3 separate regions of the Homo sapiens genome follow, and regions 1 and 3 are each linked to region 2. Evidence: promoter capture Hi-C in 16 types of primary human blood cells and fetal thymus (Javierre and others, 2016). All regions are on one chromosome and are shown on one strand. The core of a region is centred on a gene start or on the middle of the fragment in contact, and the rest is flanking DNA. Distances in the headings are between cores, read along the strand shown. Region 1 has its middle 320 kb from the start of ACTL7B. Region 2 holds the start of KLF4 (KLF transcription factor 4). Region 3 has its middle 41 kb from the start of ACTL7B.

Region 1 (3,266 bases), core at 315-2,814, 1.0 Mb after region 2:
AGGTGTCCATTGTTTTTCTAAGAGCTGCCCCATCTTGGATGTGATGCTAATGGGATGTAATGAGAAAAAAATCACAAAACAATCACTGATCCCCATGAACTGAAAGCTCATATTTTAAATATTCATAATTAAGCATCCCACAGGTACATTACCAATGAGACCTTCCAAATCATAAACAATGACCTGTCAAAATCAAAAGCTACGACAGAAAAGAAAAACCACAATTTATACAGCTATCCAAAAGCAACAAAAAAGATACAACTAATTCTTGGAAAAACTGACAGGCTAGATTTTACTCAAATTTATTTAGACCAAATGGTCTTGAGATGTGGTTAGCTGTGTTGAACTGCTGTTGCCAGGAGCATGAAACTTTGTATGAATTCGTCTGAAAAAAAAAAAAAAAAGCTGCTGTATTTAGTAGGTTTTCATCAGAATCTTAAACACCTTGATCAATAGCTTAATATGGCTCAACTATCTGGAATACAATTTGCAGGTAAATCAACATGACATGCCTCACAGGGTCCAATTTCTCCAATTAGACATGGCACAGTGCTATATTTGAGTAAGCGGAATGGAAAGATGGTCATTCTTTACTTCAGCTTTTTCCCAGGCTAACCTCTCAACCATGCTTTGATCACTCTCCATTCTTAGAACTTATTTGGCATCAGGCTCCATGAATGGCATAGAGAATGAGGTAATAACAAAGATACAGTTCCTCTAAGAAGCACAAAGCCTACTGGGGAATATAGGCAAGTAAACCATCAACTGCAAGATAATCTTATAGCCTAAGTCCAGAGAACCTTGAAACATCAATCTGAACCATCTTCAGCCAAACTCAGGGAAGATTTCCAAGAAAATGTGAAGCTTGATCTAAGTCTTGAAGAACAAGGGAAGCATACTGGGTAGAGAAGGAAGAAGAGGACCCCAGGTGAAACGAACAGCATGTGGGAAGGTATGCGAGTATGAAAGAGTCTTATATGTTTGAATGTCTGGTTCTTCTCTTCTAATGGGAGGCTGGATGGGTCCTGAGAGGTCCAAGTGGTGGAAGCATCACCTTAAATCATAGATCTAAAGTCTCAGAGCTGTGGGTTTACTAAAATCAATAAAGCATGCAAACTGAGGTTCCAGAAGGCAGACTGAGAGATCCAAACTATCCACCAAATTAAGTAGAATCTGAGAATGGTATCAGAAGGCAAAATGTGGGGCCAGGGGAATCTAAGAGCCAGGAGGTTATAAGTGGTAATATTATGTTGGAGAGGCAGGGGGTGGGGGAGTCACTGTTCAGGAGGGTCTTTTACATGCTTTTTGCAGCAATATATGAGTCCGTTCTAGTTAAAATACCAGAGCAAGAATGTTCAAACTAATGGTAGTTTAATCTGTGTCCTTGTAGATAAACCTACCAAATGTATAATAAAAACTGATTAGAGTCCAGGACTGTTTAATTAGAGTCAGAAAACAGAAACCACTCTAGGTATTCAAACAGAGGGAATTTAATACAGGAAATCATTTATACACATAGCTGAGAAACCACACAACGGTGGTGAGTTACTCATAGATTAGTAACAGCAGGAAACTTCTAACACACCCAATGCTGAAGGGAGCACAGGGGCCAGGATCAGAAGAAAGACACTGGAACCATGATAGCCCTGTCCAACAGGGGCTGGAGTCTTGGAGGGACAAAGCTAATGCTGGAGCTGCTACCCAAAGCAGAGATGAGGGAAGAAATACCCTGGACTATCACCTCGTCCTGCCCTCCAGTCTTCTGCCAGTTTCTTGTCCTCCTATCGACCAAACCAACTGAGAAGCCAGAGAGCAAAGAAGCCTGGAAAATGTAGTTCCTTATAATAGAGAGCAGGGCAAAAAAGGGCAAAGAGAGCATCTGACAGTAAACAAGCGAATAACCAGCAAAGTCAAAGTTAAGACAGAAGACAGAAGACACAGGGAGAACAAGATCATGAAGCATCCTTTTTGTATTTTATTCTTCGGAAAACAGAAAATGGTTAAACAGTTTTAACTATAGCCATCTTGGTGTTTTATAAAGATCACTCTGGCTACATATGGAGGCTGAGTTTTAGGAGGGTGACTGTAAGAAGCCAGAATACTGTTGTGATTGATTTAGCTAAAAGGCAGAACAGCAATGTTCATGGTCCTAGGCATAGGGATGCCAAGAGTCAATGTAGGGCTTGGGGTCTCCATCAAACATCACCATGAGAACAACCAAAAGCCCTCCTTGAAGATAAACATCCTGATTTTGAGTGAACACTGAAGCTTTTATCTAGCTGGACAAAATTACACATTGGATTTTATACTTAAATTCACTTGGTAGCATTTCATTTCCTGGCCCCCTTGTGGCTGGGTAGGGTCATGGGACTAGTTCTGACCAAAGAGGTACAAGCAGGCGTGGTCTGTATCACTTCCAGGCAAGGGCATTAAATTGCCAGTGTGAGACCCTCCAGAGTTCACACTCTCACTCAGCTGCGATGACCAGCAACATTTGATATGGTAGCTTCTTCGTCAACCTGGGTCCCCAAGTAAGCAGGCATGGTGCAGAGTCCCCTAGCAAACTGACAGTGGACAAATCCCATGGGCAAGAAGGAATCCATCTTTGTTGTACACAGAGATTTTGGAGTTCTTGTTAATACAGCATAACCTAGCCAATCCTGGCTAATACCATAGCCATAATATCCTTCAGAGTACCAGTCTCAATTTCCTCTTCTGTATAAAAAGGGAATAATACCATTCTCGTATGTAATTTTAACAATAAAATAACCTGCTATATGTGGATGTGCTTTGTAAATGACAGCTGTTTTTCTTTATTCAGTAAACTGGAGGTATGACCAATATCTTTTTAAAGAGGACAAATATGACGAGAGGAAATAATTACTCTTCAGTTATTTTTTTCTACCTCTTAAAAGAAAACTTTATGTTCCATTTCAATAGGCTTCCACACTGATGGCAACGTCTTTAGATAAAATTTTGTAGCTTTGAGTGACAGGTTTGGGAAGATCTTTCTTACTGCTTGCTGATATAGTATATACAGACCTCTAGCAGGTCTCGGCCACCTTTGACTAGCCCTTTTGAAATGTGTACTCCTGTACCTCAGCCCTTTTGAAATGTGTACACCTGTACCTGAGGAGACACCACTGTCAGCTTTGGCTGGAAAAAAAAATTCCTCTAATGTGTGTTACTCAACCCAGCATCACCCTTCTACCAAGCTTTGGATTCATTTATTTAATTAGCAGTCACAGAAATATATTAAGCATCTT
Region 2 (3,458 bases), core at 790-3,289:
CTGGCGGCTGCGGCTGCTGCGGCGGAATGTACACCGGGTCCAATTCTGGCCGCAGGAGCTCGGCCACGAAGCCGCCCGAGGGGCTCACGTCGTTGATGTCCGCCAGGTTGAAGGGAGCCGTCGGAGGGGGAGCGGACTCCCTGCCATAGAGGAGGCCTCCGCCCGTGCCGCCCGGCGCCACGCCCGGGTCGTTCCCGGCCCGGATCGGATAGGTGAAGCTGCAGGTGGAGGGCGCGCTGGCAGGGCCGCTGCTCGACGGCGACGACGAAGAGGAGGCTGACGCTGACGAGGACACGGTGGCGGCCACTGACTCCGGAGGATGGGTCAGCGAATTGGAGAGAATAAAGTCCAGGTCCAGGAGATCGTTGAACTCCTCGGTCTCTCTCCGAGGTAGGGGCGCCAGGTTGCTACCGCCGCAAGCCGCACCGGCTCCGCCGCTCTCCAGGTCTGTGGCCACGGTCGCCGCCGCCAGGTCATAGGGGCGGCCGGGAAGCACTGGGGGAAGTCGCTTCATGTGGGAGAGCTCCTCCCGCCAGCGCTGCGGGGACAGGGCGGGAGAGACCTGTCAGTGGTGGTCCCCTGTTGCCACCCGACATACTGACGTGCTGGCGGGCCACGCGCGACTGCACCGCCCAGACATGGGGACTGGTCAGGCAGGAAGCACCCGGGAACCCAGGGCGCCAGCGCTGCAATCTCGGCCCACTCCCGGGTCGAAGAAGAGGTGATGCGTCTGTATTGCGGGTGTTATGTCCTGTCTGCCCAATTGCGTGTGAGCGAGCGCCGCGGCTGGTCCCTCCCCCTCCAGGTCCCGTGGACGTCCCCGGAATTGGCACACCGAGGCTCTCTCGGTGCGCTCTCGCCACGGGGCCGCCTACGCGCTAAACTCACTCTGGCCCAGCCAGTGTCTGGGGACGCGGCCACCTCCCGCCCGGTGGCCCGAGAGCGCCCGCCCTACCGACAGCGCGCCCGGGGACTGGTGAAGACCCGGCTTGCGCCCCAGGCGGCTCCGCAGTGCTCGCACCACGGGCATACACAGCTGAGCCAAGGACACGGAAGCTATCCCGGGAAGGTTGCGGAGTCCGCGCGGTGGCCGCTCCTTACCCTCGTTCAGTGGCTCTTGGTGACCCCAAGGCTCCGCCCGCCCCCACCACACCCACGAAAACCCACCGGGCGTTCCCGGCGGCCCGGAGCGATACTCACGTTATTCGGGGCACCTGCTTGACGCAGTGTCTTCTCCCTTCCCGCCGGGCCAGACGCGAACGTGGAGAAAGATGGGAGCAGCGCGTCGCTGACAGCCATGTCAGACTCGCCAGGTGGCTGCCTGCGAGCAAGGCAGGGAGCGGAGACAGGAGAGTCAGGGGCGGCTTTCGGCCGTCGTTCCGGCGCGTCCCACCGGTCCTCACCCCTCCCTGCTCCCAGCGCCGCGCGCCTCACCTACCTCATTAATGTGGGGGCCCAGAAGGTCCTCGGCAGCCCGAAGCAGCTGGGGCACCTGAACCCCAAAGTCAACGAAGAGAAGAAACGAAGCCAAAACCCAAAACCCCAAATTGGCCGAGATCCTTCTTCTTTGGATTAAATATAACTTGGAAGCGTCTTTTTTAAAAAGTTCCTTTGTATACAAAAGTTCTTAGAAAAGTTGTAAACGCAAAAATAGACAATCAGCAAGGCGAGTAAGTAGGTCCGGTGGCCGGGCTGCGCTCTCTTCCACTCAGCAGCGTCCCCCACCACTGTCGCGGTCGCCTCGAGTGCTGCCGTGGGCGCAGGGGCTGTGGCCGGGGCGGTGGGCGGGCGGTGCCGCCAGGTGAGACTGGCTGCCGTGGCGCGGAGCTGCGAACTGGTCGGCGGCGCAAGGCGCGGACTCCGGTGAGTTGTGTGGAGCGCGCGCGGCCATGGGCGCGGGCCACGGGCGGGTGGGAGGGTGGGGGGCCAGAGGGGCGGGGGAGGGTCACTCGGCGGCTCCCGGTGCCGCCGCCGCCCGCCACCGCCTCTGCTCCCCGCGCGCCCGCAGACACGTTCGTTCTCTCTGGTCGGGAAACTGCCGGCCGCCGGCGCGCGTTCCTTACTTATAACTTCCTTCGCTACAGCCTTTTCCTCCGCCTTCTCCCATGCCCCGCCCCTCCCTTTCTTCTCTCCGCCCCCCCCGAGGCTCCCTTCCATCGTTGCTATGGCAGCTAAATCAACAAACTCGGCGCACGTGGGGGCGGGGGAGGGGAAGGAGGGGCGCGGGCGGGGCTGGGCCGGGCCGTGACGCCAGCCAGGCAGCTGGCGGGCTGGAGCCGAGCTGACGCCGGCGGCAGTGGTGTCGGCGGCGGCGGCGGCGTCCGCCCCAGCGCGGGGCGCGAGGAACCGGGCGCAGGTTCGGTCGCTGCGCGACCAGGGCCGTACTCACCGCCATTGTCGGCTCCCTGGGTTCGAAGCCCGCGAAGACTGGTGGGGTCAGCGGGCGGCACGGTCACGCGTCCGCACCCCTGCTAGCATACGCGCTTGCCGCGCTGTCTGCGCGCTGGAGAAGAGCGCGATTATCCGCGTGACTCATCCAGCCCTCCATCTCCCCCTCCCTCTCTGCGCTCGCAGGAGTCCGCTCTCGTCGCTCAGCGCCAGTGCCGGTGGCGGTGCCGGCGCTCGGCCTGACCTCGCACGGTTCCTCGCGGGCCCTTCTGCTGAGGGGTGGGGGGCGCTAGGGGTGTGGAGAGGAGGCAGTGCCCAGCACTGTGCAGCGTGAACTGGGAGCCTCAAGAGAAGGCCAGAGGAGTGTTCCGCCGGGAACAGGCGGAAAGAGGCACGAATGGGGAGTTATGGTTTTGATACTTTAAATAGCGAGAAAGGGAGTGAAAGGGCTCAAGATTTACTCAGAGGCATAAGGGAGAGAAGAGGGACTGTGAGGCGCGGAGACAGTTTTCAACCAGCCATCTCGAAGCCCTTTCCTTTTTTTTTCTTTCTTTTTTTTTTTTTTGTGAGACAGAGTCTCGCTGTGTCGCCCAAGCTGGAATGCAGTGGCACGATCTCAGCTCAGTGCAACCTCCGCCTCCTGCGTCCAAGCGATTCTCCTGCGTCAGCCTCCCGAGTAGCGGGGATTACAGGCGTGCGCCACGACGCCGGCTAATTTTTGTATTTTTCGTGGAGACGGGGTTTCACCATGTTGGCCAGGCAGGTCTCGAACACCTGACCTCAAGTGATCAGCCTGCCTCGGCCTCCCGAAGTGCTGGGATTACAGGCGTGAGCCACTGCCTGTAATATTTGATGACTAAATTGCACTGTAGAATAATAATAATAATAGAAGACACCCATTAAAGAAGAATTAAACACTCACTGATGACTTTTCAAGCCACGCACTCTCCTTTCCACTTTATGGATGAGAAATTGAGTCATAAAGAGGTGAAATGGCCAGTAAAGGTCAAAGGACAACTCGTTCCTTCGGCTCAGGCTCCGGGTAGGTCAGGCCCCCCTAAAGGGACTTC
Region 3 (3,246 bases), core at 331-2,830, 1.3 Mb after region 2:
GATGATTCAGTTGGGAAGAGGTGAAGATGGGAATTTGAAGGCAATCTGCAGACCTCAGAGCCCAGCCCTTAGCCATCACACAGTCTTGCCAGGGCTTCGCAAAATATTCAGTGAACTGATGAATCCAAAAGTACTTTGCCAACTGTGAAGTGCTGCCCAAAAGTAGCCACTGCTGTTTACTAGTTTTGTTACGAAGATCTCCAAAATAAGAGATCTTTCTTCTTCCTTGATATTTGACAGTGCAAACCCTGAGCATTTTTTCCCAGGTTCAGAATAGCAAGCAAGAAAGGCTATGAGATTGTTATGTGGACATATTATGTAAACAAACAAACAAAAGGCTATGAGACAGAAATCACTCTGGATGAAAGGAAAGGAAGTCTGGGCTTTCATGAGTCACACTGAGAGACAGAAAAAATGATAAAGTCAGGCCAGGCAACCCTTCTGAAAGCTTAGCCTGTACTGGCACCTGCTGGTGCCCACAGTAGCTGTGCCAGCTTTACTTTCAACCAGGAATTATCCCTTGGAGGGTAAATGCCCCAGGGCAGTTTTATGTGTGAAGGGATTAGGGGCAGAGGGAAGGGTTGCAGCTTTTCTTCTTTTCTTACTCAAGAGGCTGCTGTGCATCTTTGGAAAAACCTCCAGGCTAAAATTCACTAGTAATAAACTACTGAGCACCTTTTATGGACATGCGTGGCACTGAGGGTCTCACTCAGCTCCCCCAAGAACAGTACCCCCAGCCCACCTCTGCAAGACACAGAACTGGAGGAGGTTGCTGCATTTGACCAAGATCATGCAACTAACTACTAAGTGGCAGCTCTAATTTAGGCCAAAATTCGATTTCATTTATACTCTTTTTTACAGCACCAGGTTATTTCCAAAGACTTAAGTTCACAGTCTAATTTTCCCATTTGCTATGTATGGGATCCTGGCCCTACCAATTCACCACTGAGAGTTTTGTCTTGGTTGACTGATCCCCTTACCTTATTCCAGAAGAGGTCAAACATGCCTACCTTACTCAAATCCTTTTCTGCAATGTGGGGAGAAACCCCTCTCACGGTGTTTGTAATGATCCTAAAAAGAGGTTGGATCTAAAAACATAAATAACAATACAATTACCTTTAAAACCTGAAGACCTGCTACGCCATAAATGTTTCTTTGAACTTCCTGGCTCCAAATGGAAAGAAGAATTCAAAGGTATTCCCTGAAATAGCTCCTAAACTTGTCAGTTGATGTTCGCACCTGGAAAAATCTCTTAACCCCAAATGTGTCCAATCAAAGATCTAGAAAACTTATTTTCCAGAGCTCAGTTGAAATTTAAAGAAAAACAAATAAAAGATACACAGTTGAACCATATGAAATTGCCAATATTTGACCATTCTGACTTACCAAAAATAAGTAAAAGCAGCACATTGAAGGGATTCAATGTAATTTACGCAGGCCCTCAAAAAGACAGGGTCTTTATCACTGTAGTCATTGGACAAGCCCCCTCCAGGCCAAGTATCAGCAGACAGGCACAAGAGTCACCTGGGTGATTGTTTAATATGCAGGTTCCCAGGCCCACTCCAGAAATGCCGATTCAGGACTGGAGTGGGGTGAGTCACTCAGGAATGTGCCTGTGTAAAAGACATCCCAGGTATCCCAACACAGGGAGGAGGTGCACCTTGCTCTGGAGTACTACTGGGCTTCTAAGGCAATCACCCAGGTGACTCTTGTGCCTGTCTGCTGATATTTGGCCTGGAGGGGGCTTGTCCAATGACTTTACAGTGATAAAGACACTGTCTTTTTGAGGGCCTGCGTAAATTACATTGAATCCCTTCAACGTGCTGCTTTTACTTATTTATTTTTGGTAAGTCAGAATAGTCAAATATTGGCACTTTCATATGGTTCAACTGTGTATCTTTTATTTGTTTTTCAGAAGACAGCATTCCAGGATGCTGCACTCTCAAAGGGCATCCAGTCTACGGTGGGCAGGCTGATTTAAGGATTTATGCTGTACAAGTGGACAAGATCCTGGAGGGGCACAGTTTCAAATCTCATTTCCATAACTTGGCCGCTGTGAGAAGTCTTTGGAGTACCCAGCTTTTTTGTTTTAATGATCCAACCCTGCTTTTTGTTGTTTCCTTTTGTTTGTTTTGTTGCCTGAAATTTATTATTATTATTAATTACTGCGAGGGGACCTGAAACACTTTTTGAATAGCTGCTTTAGGGTGATGTGTTCAGTCCCCATCCCTCTACCCTCCAAGACAGAATTACTGCGGCTCTACTTGTTGGTTTAAAGACTATTTATAAGCAAGGTCCATCTTCCACATTGCAGATCCAAACCAAAGCCTCATTATTTCCACTGTTTGTTTTGCTGCAGAATGGTTAACATTTACATGGAAATGGGTCTTTTTCTCTATCCTGTAATTTGGATTGTTTAGTTTTCCTTTTTGGACTTCTTTGATGCTGCTGAAGAAAGAAGTCCGCAGGAATCTGGAGAAAGGAAGAGTGAGCTGCCGGGGGCCGAGTGGGCGGCAATGCTGTTTGCTTCCGTGCCTGTGTGGCGCCCCCCCGCCACGCCGCCCCCACCACTTCCCCTAGTTGGACTAAGCTATCTCCTTCCTGTTTCTGCTTTTCTCCCTCCTACAGCTGGGCTAAGATATGTCAGCACTTAGGGCTGGAGGTCCAGCTTTACCACTAACTCAATATGGAACCTGGATCAAGTCTCCCTCGGAAGCTTTGCTTCCCATGTGAACAGTGAAGGTGCTTAACCAGATGATCTCTAAATTCCATTACATTCCTAAGCCCACTGAGCTTCCCTTTTCTACACCCTTTTCCTTTCTATCTCGGATGAAGTAAAAAAGTTGCTTTTTTTATACCCAAAGCATGAAAATAATAACCAATGAATGTCCCCCAGATGTCCCTGAGTTTCAAAGATGACATCATTGCTATATAAGATTTTCCAAAGACTTTCCAAGGCTTTAAATCCTCTAGCATTTCTACCTCACCTACTACCCCCACAACCATTCCCCATTAGCCCCAACTTAACTGCAACCCTAGAACTTTCTAGGTTTAATTTCTGTCTCTCCTCTTCCTTTTATTTCTTGCTAGAGGATTCTACAAGAAATATAACTCCACTTCCAAGTATCTACTCTAGAGAAGCATTTTGCCAATGTCTACGATAAGGCATAAGGAAGTGTGTTCACTGAGGCCTTGTTTACCATAATGAATAAAATGGATGTCTATCAAGCAAAAAAACAAACTGGG

Evidence for each region. The method cuts DNA at HindIII sites, captures the fragments that hold promoters and counts their contacts. A CHiCAGO score of 5 or more calls a contact.
Region 1: a contact is called between a fragment that was not itself captured here and the fragment with the promoter of KLF4 in region 2, in 2 of 17 cell types (naive B cells and M1 macrophages). The highest score is 6.1, in naive B cells.
Region 3: a fragment that was not itself captured here is called in contact with the fragment with the promoter of KLF4 in region 2 in 1 of 17 cell types (M0 macrophages); the score reaches 6.2 in M0 macrophages.

The regions. Positions count from the first base shown.
Region 1 is chr9:108,533,384-108,536,649 of GRCh38, forward strand. No RefSeq gene overlaps it. Among named protein-coding and RNA genes, the nearest start is that of ACTL7B, 320 kb to the right of the region's middle. The HindIII fragment of the contact is 1,404 bases long and covers 863-2,266 here.
Region 2 is chr9:107,487,730-107,491,187 of GRCh38, forward strand. KLF4 (KLF transcription factor 4) reads right to left here and starts at 2,040. Exons shown (of 5, transcript NM_004235.6): 1 at 1,439-2,040; 2 at 1,201-1,321; 3 at 1-538. The coding sequence starts at 1,443. RefSeq lists silencers at 852-901, 1,553-1,752, 2,112-2,321. The HindIII fragment of the contact is 11,219 bases long and covers 1-3,458 here.
Region 3 is chr9:108,813,720-108,816,965 of GRCh38, forward strand. No RefSeq gene overlaps it. Among named protein-coding and RNA genes, the nearest start is that of ACTL7B, 41 kb to the right of the region's middle. The HindIII fragment of the contact is 2,268 bases long and covers 447-2,714 here.